2 separate regions of the Homo sapiens genome follow, and region 1 is linked to region 2. Evidence: promoter capture Hi-C in 16 types of primary human blood cells and fetal thymus (Javierre and others, 2016). All regions are on one chromosome and are shown on one strand. Each heading gives the region's core, a stretch centred on a gene start or on the middle of the fragment in contact. The rest is flanking DNA. Distances are from core to core; before and after follow the strand shown.

The links. The method cuts DNA at HindIII sites, captures the fragments that hold promoters and counts their contacts. A CHiCAGO score of 5 or more calls a contact.
Region 1: a fragment that was not itself captured here is called in contact with the fragment with the promoter of NDUFA6 in region 2 in 2 of 17 cell types (naive CD4 T cells and activated CD4 T cells); the score reaches 6.1 in naive CD4 T cells.

What each region holds. Positions count from the first base shown.
Region 1 is chr22:42,329,627-42,335,562 of GRCh38, reverse strand. It overlaps a transcript of TCF20 not described here. Among named protein-coding and RNA genes, the nearest start is that of LINC01315, 37 kb to the left of the region's middle. The HindIII fragment of the contact is 1,123 bases long and covers 3,308-4,430 here.
Region 2 is chr22:42,087,848-42,093,784 of GRCh38, reverse strand. It overlaps NDUFA6 (NADH:ubiquinone oxidoreductase subunit A6), which reads left to right and starts at 3,013. Exons shown (of 3, transcript NM_002490.6): 1 at 3,013-3,179. The coding sequence starts at 3,041. It overlaps NDUFA6-DT (NDUFA6 divergent transcript), which reads right to left and starts at 2,852. Exons shown (of 5, transcript NR_034118.2): 1 at 2,604-2,852; 2 at 2,185-2,488; 3 at 1,553-1,666. The HindIII fragment of the contact is 8,372 bases long and covers 1,851-5,937 here.

The DNA.
Region 1 (5,936 bases), core at 2,620-5,119, 240 kb before region 2:
AGTCAGTATTCATTCAGCAAATGCAGTCCCTTAATAAGGATATTGCAGCCCTACTATGCACCAGATGTGGTACTGATTGGGGGTGGGATGGGGAGAGCTACATTTGTGAATAAAGCAGACCAGGTTCTCACCCTCGAGGAGCTCACAGTGGAGTAGGAGTGACAGACAGCAAACAGGTGAAAACGTGGCTGGTGCCGGCCTGTGGGCAGGGCTGTGTGGAAAAGCTGAGTGGTGCCAGAGAGAGAGTGGGAGGTGCAGGGGGTGCTGATAGAGGCAGGGTGGCCAGGGAGCCTTTATCAGGGGCAGGAGAAGGTGCCAGCCATGGGAGGTGTGCGGGGAGAGCATCCCAAGTGGGACTCCTTGCTTTCTTGTCTGTTTCCCCACCCCTCTTGCCTGGTGGGGGCCAGCACAAAACTGGGATCTTTGCTGGGGCTGAGCTGATGTGGGCAGGGCCCCGGGAGCAGGAATGGTCTCGGATGTCTCTGTGGAGCCCAGGTCCCAGGAGCGTATGCAGAACGAAAGTCAGGCTGGGCTCCGGGCCCAGAGGGTGTACAGCTCTGGATACTGTAGGCAGCCAGGGCCTGAGACACGGGATGGGGTGTGGAGTCTTGGGTCCTGGTTCATCCTGAGGCCCTGCTAGATCCATCCATTGCTGAGGTCCAGAGCAAGGTTCCCTTCCGACAACTCACACAAAGGACTAAAAGTCCCATGGGACGGACAGACAGGACTGAGGAGCCCACGTGCTTGGGGCCAGATCCTTCCCCACTTAGACTAGGCTGTGAGACTACACTCAGGCAAGGCCCTGAATTTGAGCCTCAGCGTCCTCATCTGTAAAATGGGGATGACTATTCCACCCTTGTGAGGCTGCTTAGAGAATTAGATGTGATAGTCTCAGTGCAGCGCCTGGCTCATGACAGGCGCCAGTGTGTCTGCCACACTGTTGTTCTCGGCATGTGCCGAGTGTGTAAGGGCTGGAGCGGTTGTTGACTCGGAACCACCTCCCTGCAGCCTAGCCTGTTCCCTGCTCTGCCTCCAGCTCCTAGAACAGTGGCTGCAGCACACAGTTGCTGTTTGTTGACTGACTGAGTGAACTGGCTGCTTGAGTGAGCAGCCCCCAGGTGATGGGGAGGACAGGGCACAGGGGACTGAGTTGTGCCCAGGGGCTGACCATGGGCATCCAGCCATCTAGCTGCTTCTTGACTCCTCATTGGGGTACCCCTGGGACACCAAACCTCCTAGAGCCTCAGTGTACTCCTCTGTAAAATGGAGCCAATGATGATTCTGACCCCGGGCCCTGTCCCTAGGTTGTTGGCAGACTCATGAGAAAATGATATTAAAGGGCCGTGAGGACAGCTGAGCCTACAAATTGTTGGTGAGGTTGCCACCAGTCTGATTTCCCAAGGCCACCCAAGGTCCCAGGGAGGAGGGTGAGATGTTCAGGCTCTGGACAGGGAACCAGGCCTCTCCCTGCTTCCAGCTGCCCATGGTGTGAGGGGCACCTGGCCATGCAGCCCCTCTGACACCAAGGGTACCATTATGTTGAGTCACCTTTATCTGGTGGCTCATCTGGAACCTTGTGAGCCTGTTCCCACAGGAGTCTGCTAAACTCCAGCCCCAGGCAGGGGCCACCCGTTGGCCTGGGTTCCCACTGCGCTTGTGCCTATGGTCCTGTGTCCCAGTGGCACCTGGAGGAGCCATCGTGGTGGGCCGGTGCTCCTCCTAGAGGGAAGCCCTAGGCCAGGCCTGGCACATAGTGGGTGAGCAGGTTGGGCACCTGGAAGCTTGGGCTAGGCCTGCCTTCTATCGCCTTCCTCTGTGTGTGGCTGTGGGCAGTGAGTTACAGGCTTAGTACCTACTGCGTGGAGCAGTAGGCATACTGTGTGTTCTGGTCTCTGAATTGCTCTCCACTTTGTGGCGAGGGGCAAGCTGGCTCACAGGGGCCTGATATGAGGGTTTTTACACCTTTACCCCTTTGCCTCTGAGGCAGGTGGGGACCACTGGTTCCTTACCGAAACTGAGGCTCAAAGAGGGCCAAGGTGTGGTGGAAGCCAGATACTTTTCTGCTTCTGTGTGACTTGCGTTCATGGTGCAGTGGCTGTCAGCCAGGCTTGTGCACAGCCCTGGTGCACCGTCCTCTAAAGCCTCTGCACAGCGAGACAGCTCCTGCCACTGTCTACACACAGCCCTGGTGCACCATCCTCTAAAGCTTCTGCACAGCGAGGCAGCTCCTGCCACTGTCTACACACAGCCCTGGTGCACCATCCTCTAAAGCCTCTGCACAGTGAGGCACCTCCTGCCACTGTCTACACACAGCCCTGGTGCACCATCCCCTAAAGCCTCTGCACAGCGAGGCAGCTCCTGCCACTGCACACAGACTGGGTGCACCGTCCTCTAAAGCCTCTGCACAGTGGGGCAGCTCCTGCCATTGCATTTTGCCAATGCAAAAACAGAGATTAAGAGAGGCAGAGTGACGCAGCCAGGCTTTTGTTTTTACTTTTTCTTGGAGGTATAACTTAATACAGAAAAGTGCACACTTCTTAAGTGTACAGCTATAGGTAGCTGTGCAGCCTCCATCCAGATCCAGACCTAGAACATCCCCAGTGCCCCTGGAGGCTCCCCCGTGCTCCTCCCAGTCAACCCCCACCTGCTGCCAGCAGCTGCCCCCACTCCTGGCATCTGACAGTAGAGGCTGGCCTTGTCCATCTCTGCACTTTATAGAAACAGAGCCGCACAGCATGGTCCCTTTCCTGTAGCATCGTGTTTGCCCATGCAGTTGCTTTATCAGAAATTGGCTGTGCGGGGCACGGTGGCTCATGCCTGTAATCCCAGCACTTTGGGAGGCTGAGGCAGGCAGATCACTTGAGGTCAGGAGTTTGAGACCAGCCTGGCCAATATGGTGAAACCCCATCTCTACTAAAATTGCAAAAATTAGCAGGGAGGCTGAGGCAGGAGAATTGCTTGAGCCCGGGAGGCGGAGGTTGCAGTGAGCCGAGATGGTACCACTACACTCCAGCCTAGGCAACAACAGAGCGAGACTCCGCCTCAAAAAAAGAAAGAAAGAAAGAAATTGGCTGAACTGGTATTTGAACTCTCCCGCTCACTCTCCCCGTCGAACCCAGAGTGCTGCCCTTGCTTACATTGCCATCACCCTTGGAATGAGACCGAGATCCTCCCCCTGGCTGTTCCTGCTCCAGCTCCTGCACTGGTCACTACACTCCAGCCACATAGAGGGACCTTTTGTTCTCAAAAGCCCTGAGCTGCTTCCTACCTCAGGGCCTTTGCACTTGCTGTTCCGACCTCCCAAGCTTCTCCCTGCCTGGCTAATACCCTCAGAGCCCAGCTGGAGTATCACCTCCTCTGCCAGGCAGGGCCTTCCTGGTGCATGTTATCAGGCTAGTTCGTAGTGCCCATGTCATTTGTAATAGTTATCTGTTATGCATCTGCTCGCCCTAGACAGAAAACTCCAGGAGGCAGGGATGGTGTCTGCTGAGTTCACGGCTGGACCCCGGTGCCTTTCGTTGGTTCACTCACTCTTCCTTCCTGTCATCTGTTCCTTCAGCAAGTCCTGAGCACCTGACATGTGATAGCATCTTGCTAGTATTTGTTGAGCGGATGAGTGGATGAAGGAATATCCATCTGTCTCTAAAGCCTGTACTCTTTCCACTACATTCCGTGATCTCTGACACCCCTCTCTTGGCCCCATTTTCCCCAGTTGTCAAATGAAGGAACCAGACCTTCCCTTCCTGGCTAAGTTCAGATTCTGAGGATGTAAGGCAAGTGGGCTGGCTTACAGCCCAGCTGCGCAGGGTAGTGACCATAGACTACAAGGCAGGTTCTGCACCACCCCCAGTGCCTGGCAGAGTGCTTTCCACACCTGCACCATCAGAGCCCCCAGGCTGCTGTTGGGGTGCAGGGCTCAAGCCCTAGACATGTCAAGGGACTTGCTGAGGCCACACATCTGACCACAGCCTCAGAGCTCCAAGCTCAGCCTGCTGGGCCTCAAGGGCAGGAAGAGGCAAGGTTGCCCGGGTCTGGGAGGCACTGGGAATAGGGCTGGTGATGGGGGTCCCTGGTGGACCTGGGTTCCTGTCTGACTTAACCCCACAAGGCTATGTGGCTTTGGTAAGTCACTTTCTCTCGTGGGCTATAGAAATGGGAGTGACTGTTGTGATTGTCCCTCCCTGATAGGGCCTCTGAGGCTCACGAGATCTCAGGGAGCACACAGTAGGTCTCTGTGAGGCCAGCTGTTTCCAGGGCGTGCGGCAGGACTGGGTCTCTGCCGGGAGCTGTGCAGCACCCGGTGGCTCGTGGCTTAGCGGCTTGTCAGCCAGGCGGGCGGGTGTCCTGGGGCCGGGTTTGATTAGTTCAGGTTGACAGTCGCGCTCCGCGGCGCTGCCGGGAGGGGAGCCCGTGATTACCCTAATGAAGCTTGAACACAGTTTGTCATCCAAACAGCTGGTTCGTAGCTGTGCTGCTGCCAGCTGCCCGACTCAGCAGTGCAACCGCATGCCCAGGACCGCCCCAGCCCCGAGCAGCCCTGCCACCTGCTCGATGGATGACCAGGGGCAGGGGGTGGCGGCCCTGGGTGGGCTGTGGGGCAGCCCCAGGGGAATGAGATGGGCCACTCAGGGGTGGGGGACTTGGCAGAGCCTTAGACCAGCGAAGCAGGGCAGCTTCTCAGGACATTCACGGGCAGCCCCTGATCCTAGGCCTCAGTTTCCCCATCTGTAAAGTAGGTATTGGTGACCTTGCAGCTTCAAGTTTCTGAATTCAGGCTGAACTGTTGCCTCCTCTGGGAACACTTCCTGGACTCTGTGGGCTGGATCAGGGGCTCGGATGGGTGCCCACAGCCCTCAAGGCAGGCCCTGCCACCCCGATGGCCCTGTGTTGTCACTGAAGGTCAAGAGTTGTCATGTCTCACTCATCCACTCATTTATTTATTCATTTAATAAATAGTAAGAACACACAGCAGTGAGCAAGACAGTCCCTGTTCTGCATTCGTGGAGTTTTCAGTCTGGTTTGGGGGAGACTGTGGGGCTGTGACCTCATCTAGGGGATAGAAAAGACTTCCTGGAGGATATAGCATCTGAGCTCAGAACAACCAGCAGGGGAGAGACACAGAGAAGAGTGTTGCAGGCAGGAGGAACAGCGTGTACAAAGGCCCTGAGGTGGGGGGGAAGGAGCGAGGTGTTTGGAGGGATGTTGGGCACCCGGGGACACTGCAAACGTCAGTGCCTCAGGGACTTATTCCTGCCCTGTGCTCAGCAAGTTCACTGTGATGCCCTCTCATTGACCCTTTGTTATGGCCCTGGAAGGAAGGATCACTGTTTCATGCTGCAGATGAGGAAATTGAGACCCACAGCATAGAAGGCAGTGCCCTCCAGGCCTCTGCAGCCTCCAGCCTGCCTGGTGGCCCCCTGAGAGGCCCTGGCCAGGGGTTGTCTGCTCAGCTTGGAGTGGAATCTGCAGGGCCACTCAGATGGGGTGGCGGTGGGCCTGGGTCCCTGTTGAGGCCTTAAGCTCTTGCCTGATGGAGGAGGCCAAGGGAAGGGGCCCACAGGCAGCCGAGGGCCTCTGCTAGATGGCTGGGTGGGTTTCCTATTACTCTGGGCCAGGACCTACCTGTATTTGAACTTGGTGGCCCCTGGTGAGTTCATACTCCCTCCACCTCCCACTGAGCCCACAGCCATTTCGGGGGCCACACTTTCCCACTTGGCTTTGCTTGGGGATGGGGCAGGCAGGCAGGGGGAGGAAGGGGACTCGGTGGGGGGAGTGGCAAGGGAATGGGCACTGGCCTGCAGCCCCAAGAGCCTCTGGCCTCCCCCACGGCCAGCCCTGAGCTGCTTCCCGGTTTCTCTGCCACCGTCTGTGGCTAGGCCACCCTCTCAGCCCTCCTGCATCCCTGCAGTGGCCTCCTGGGTGGCGATCCAGCATGT
Region 2 (5,937 bases), core at 1,764-4,263:
ACAGTATGTAGCTCTTTCAGATTGTCTTCTTTCACTTACTAATATGCATTTAAGGTTTCTCCATGCCTTTTCATGGCTTAATAGCTCATTTCTTTCTAGTGCTGAATATAGTCCATTGTCTGGATATACCAAGGTTTATTTATCCATTTACCTGCTAAAGGACATCTTGGTTGCTTTCAAGTTTTGGCAATTACAAATAAAGCTGCTGCTGGCCGGGAGCGGTGGCTCACGCCTGTAGTCCCAGAACTTTGGGAGGCCAAGGCGGGCAGATCACGAGGTCAGGAGATCGAGACCATCCTGGCTAACATGGTGAAACCCCGTCTCTACTTAAAATACAAAAAATTAGCTGGGCTTCGTGGCAGGCGCCTGTAGTCCCAGCTACTTGGAGGCTGAGGCAGGAGAATGGCGTGAACCCAGGAGGCAGAGCTTCCAGTGAGCCGAGATCGCGCCACTGCACTCCACCCTGGGTGACAGAGCGAGACTCCATCTCAAAAACAAAAACAAAAACAAAAGCTGCTGTAAACATCCATGTGCAGGTTTCTGTGTGGACATAAGTTTTCAGCTCATTTGGGTAAACACTAAGGAATGCAATGGCTGGATCTTCTGATGGGAGTATGTTTAGTTTTGTCAGAAAGCCAAACTGTCTTCCAAAGCTGCTGTACCATTTTGCGTTCCTACCAGTAAGGAGAGTTCCTGTTGCTTCACATCCTCACCAGCATTTGGTGTTGTCTCCCTTGCCCATTTCTAAACTTGGCTATTTGTCTTTTCATTACTGAGTTGTAAGAATTTTATGTATCCTAGATACAAGTCCCTTATGGAACATGTGATTTGCAAAAATTTTCTCCCAGTTTGTGGGTTGTTTAGAGGTCTTTTTTTTCTTTTCCTTTTGAGACAGGGTCTCACTCTGTCGCCCAGACTGGAGTCCAGCGGCGCAATCTTGGCTCACCGCAACCTCCACCTCGCGGGCTCAAGCGATCCTCCTGCCTCAGCCTCCCGAGTAGCTGAGATTACAGGTGCCCACCACCATGCCGGCTAATTTTTGTATTTTTAGTAGAGACGGGGGTTTCACCATGTTGGCCAGGCTGGTCTCGAACTCCTGACATCAGGTGATACACCTGCCTTGGCCTCCCAAAGTGTTGGGATTACAGGAGTGAGCCACTGCGCCCCATTTTTTTTTTGAATGTTGAACACAATGAATTTATCATGATAGTGGGTACTTCTGAAGGAGGCAGGGGTATACACAAGGTTAGAATCATACAGGTAGATATCATGGTATAGGTGCTGCGAGAGTCAGAAAACTGACTCTGGCACCAGCTGCCTGGGCTTCAACCCCAATGCTGTAAAGTAACTTAGTCTCTTTGTGCCTCAGTTTTCTCATCTATAAAATGAGTATATCAGCCGGGGGCAGTGGCTCACACCTGTAATCCCAGCACTTTGGGAGGCTGAGGTGGGTGGATCACCTGAAGTCAGGAGTTTGAGACCAGCCTGGCCAACATAGCAAAACCCCGTCTCTACTAAAATACAAGCATTAGCCATGCATGGTGGTGCGCACCTGTAATCCCAGCGATTCGGAAAGCTGAGGCAGGAGAATGGCTTGAACATGAGAGGCGGAGGTTGCAGTGAGCCGAGATTGCACCATTGCAGTCCAGCCTAGGTGAGTCTCACTCTGTCTCAAAAAAAAAAAAAAAAAAGGGTATATCAACACAATCTCACTGGTGTGTTGTGAAGCCTAGCCAAGTTAATGTACCTAGAGAACTAGAGAACAGTGGCTACTAAGGACATCTAAGGACACTTTATACAAACCTTAACTGTGTTACAACTTCTTAAGTCAGTACTGAGGTTCAAAAGCTTCCATTTTATTATTATGCTTTATAATTTATATATGTTACGTGCTTTCTTTTGTATAGCTCACTTGAATATATATATACATTTTAGAAGATAATAAGGAAGAAAAAAAGTATATCTGGTTTTTTAACCCTTCGAAATGGGAAAGTTTGGAGTAGATGCTCAGCCCCGGCCCCTGGCCCTTCCCCAATACTCACAGGCTCCTGTCAACTACACCTTCAGAAAAAGACGGAGCCTCTTAGGCAGCAGTCAGGCAGGTGGGGGCGATCTGTCAGGTGACCTAGACTCTGGGCCATCTCAGTTTCCTCACCTGTAAAATGGGGATGCTGAGGTACCTACCTGACCTATGAGAGCGGAGAACACTGAGATATCTTGCCCATGGCCTGCCCTGTGGTTAGCTGTCGTTTTTTCCTTGACACTTGTAGGCTCCTCTTCATGTTTACATAACCTCAGTGGGAAAACGCCAGCGAAGAGAGACACTCAGAATGGACGATCTAAAGTTCCTTCCAGCTTCCAAATTCTGGGCTGGTTTTCAGAGATCCAGGGCTCGGGATGCGAATGTCCCTGTCTACGATGGGGCTGCCGTTACAGCCTTCCTCCCGGGGCTCTGGAGACGCGCCAGCTCTTTGACACCTCTCCTGCGCTAAGGAAGAGTTGGTTTACAGAAAAGTAAGTATATCCTGGCCCTGCAGAAAGCCGCCAGGCGGCAGGACAAGCCCCACCGCAGCCCAGGCGCCATTATCTGCCTCAGCAGTTACCTCGGGGTCCCGCCACGAGGAGGTTCTTCAAGGCCTGCGCGCCCACGGACACTACCAAGGAGCGCGGCGGGCAGCCGGATAGCAGGACGCTGAGGGAAACCCCGCAGTCGCTCGGCGTCCCCGGCGCCAGCTCACGACCCAGCGACCTCCTGCGGCCCGAGCGTCCCCTGGCGGCAACGCCGGCTCGTTAGAGCGAGCGACAGATGGTGTAGTCCAAAGGCCAAGCGGCGTTTCTGTAGATGAGCATGCGCAGCACCCACCGTTCGCTCAGCCAGAGAGAGGCTTCCCAGCCAATCCGAGAGCCTCAGAGTCATCCTCCCGCCCACCCAGCATACAGGCGGGGCGTTCCTCCTTAGCCAATGGGAAAAGACATTCGCCCGCGGTCCGCACGCGCTGCTTGCAAAGGGGTGGGGTTGTGGAGTGGATGCTTTGGCAAGATGGCGGGGAGCGGCGTCCGCCAAGCTACTTCTACCGCCAGCACCTTCGTGAAGCCCATTTTCAGTCGGGACATGAACGAGGCCAAGCGGAGGGTGCGCGAGCTCTACCGCGCCTGGTATCGGGAGGTGCCGAACACTGGTGAGAGGTAGCGGCTTACGTGGGGACCCGGAGGCCGCCGCTCAAGGTCGTAGCCGGCCCGGCCGGGGTTTCTCATGGGCCCAGCTGAGGTCACCAACTTGGGCAGAGGCGACTGCGGGTGCTTCAGGGGAAGAGGGTCACCCGAGCCTACCATGGGCCGGACCTGGCGGCGGCGCGGTGGTCAGACCGGCCGTGCCTAGCATTCGTACGTGCTATCGGAGCTTTGGTCTCTTTTGTCCTTCGCAATTGGCGGGAGGACGATGACTGTCAGTGACACACTCACTTTGTGGGTGAGGCAGCGGAGGCACCGAGAGGTGAAGTGATGTGCCCAGGGCCCAGGCCGAGCCACTGTTGTACCCAGAACCCAAAGTCTAGAGTTGCAGAGTGTAATTATAGATGCCCGTTGGATTTTTTTGTTTGTGACAGAGTCTCGCTGTGTCGCTCAGGCTGGAGTGCAGTGGTGCGATCTCGGCTCACTGCAAGCTCCGCCTCCCGGATTCACGTCATTCTCCTGCCTCAGCCTCAGCCTCCCGAATAGCTGGGATTACAGGCGCCCGCCACCACGCCGGCCATTTTTTTTTGTATTTTTAGTAGAGACGGGATTTCACCGTGTTAGCCAGAATGGTCTCGATCTCCTGACCTCGTGATCCGCCCGTCTCGGCCTCCCAAAGTGCGAGAAAGAGGTGTTTTTGAGTGAGCTGGAGCACGGTGCCACTCCTCAGGGCTGTCGAGTCCCTGCTTGTGTGTGTGAAAAGGCGGTAGAATGTGGTGGTTAGGAGCACGGACTTTTCTTCAGGCGCTGCCCTCAACTAGCTGTGTGACCTTGGGCCAGTTATTTCATCTATTCCTCAGTTTCTTCATCTTTAAAATGGGAATAATAATTCCTTCTTCAGAAGGTTACTGTATTAAGTTAAAATATCTAGAGTGCTTAGAACAGGACTTGATGCATATTTAACTCATTAAATATTAGCTGCTGCCGTTGTTTTTGTTGTTATTTTTGTTATTTATAGGGCTTTCCTTAGCAGCAGCTTCCAAGCAGAACCCGGTTCTTTGACATATGAGAACTGTGTCTGCTCCACAGAGTCCCTGTCTTCAAGCTGACTTTTGGAAAAATTGCTACTGACCAGAACTTAAACCCACGCGATACTAGAGAAGGAGAAACTTGAGTGATCTGCTGGTTCAGGGACTGCAAATTCAGATGCCTTCAGGGGCAGGCAGATAAAAGATGTGTGTGGGGAGTGACTGTAGCAGTGTGTGTGTGTGTGTGTGTGTGTGTGTTTCGGGGTGGTGCATTCAAATTCAGCAGTTTGAAAACATAATGTTTGCCTGGCAGAATACTTCTAGGAGTACCCAGAACCCTCTCTGGTTGCAGGAGGAAGGTGCTGGGGGAAGGAGGACCACATTCAAAAAGGGTGGCTTGTGAAGGGTAAATCAGTGGCCAAGTAGAAGACAGAACCCAGGTATCCTGACTCTGAGGATCCAGCTCTTTCTAAACCGACCCCTCCCAAGACCTTCCCTCAAATTCTGTTTTGGGAAGAAAGTCCCAAAGTCAGAAGGGTCTTGAGAGGAGGAAAAGAAGGCAGAGGGCTACAGGAGCCTAGAAAGCAAGGGAAGAGGAGAGAAAAGAAGGGGTCAAGGAGTATGCATCCCTATGGGGAAGATCAGTGATCTGTAGCTGGCCAGTTACTCAAACCTGTGCCACACGGGTTTTATGGTATCCATCATCAGGACTCCAGCTGAGGAATCAAATCAAGGAAGGGGAATAAGTAATAGTGTTGAGAACTTAGAACAGCCTGAGCATTAATAAAAAACAAAAGTAAAATTTTAAGTATTTAATGAAAAAAACAGTAATGATAACTCACTTTTTTTTTTTTTTTTTTTTTTGAGACAGAGTCTCGCTCTTGTCTCCCAGGCTGGAGGGCAATGGCGCGATCTTGGCTCACTGCAACCTCCACCTCCCGGGTTCAAGTGATTTCCCCATGCCTCAGCCTCCCGAGTAGCTGGGATTATAGTTGCGTGCCACCACACCTGGCTAACTTTTGTATTTTTAGTAGAAACGGGGTTTCACCATGTTGGCCAGGCTGTCTTGAACTCCTGACCTCAGGTGATCCACCTGCCTTGGCCTCCCAAAGTGCTGGGATTACAGGCGTGAGCCACCGCGCCCAGCTAATAAAATAATAATTATTTTTTTTGAGACGGAGTCTCGCTCTGTCGCCCAGGCCGGACTGCGGACTGCAGTGGCGCAATCTCGGCTCACTGCAAGCTCCGCTTCCCGGGTTCACGCCATTCTCCTGCCTCAGCCTCCTGAGTAGCTGGGACTACAGGCGCCCGCCACCGCGCCCGGCTAATTTTTTGTATTTTTAGTAGAGACGGGGTTTCACCTTGTTAGCCAGGATGGTCTCGATCTCCTGACCTCATGATCCACCCGCCTCGGCCTCCCAAAGTGCTGGGATTACAGGCGTGAGCCACCGCGCCCAGCCTTTTTTTTTTTTTTTTTTTGAGACACAGTCTCACTCTGTCACCCAGGCTGGAATGCAGTGGCCCATCTCAGCTCACTGCACCCTCCACCTCCCGGGTTCAAGTGATTCTCCTGCCTCAGTCTCCCGAGTAGCTGGGATTACAGGCACCCACCACCATGCCCGGCTCATGTTTGTATTTTTAGTGGAGACGGGGTTTCACCATGTTGGCCAGGCTGGTCTTGAACTCCTGACCTCAGGTGATCCACCTGCCTTGGCCTCCCAAAGTGCTGGGATTACAG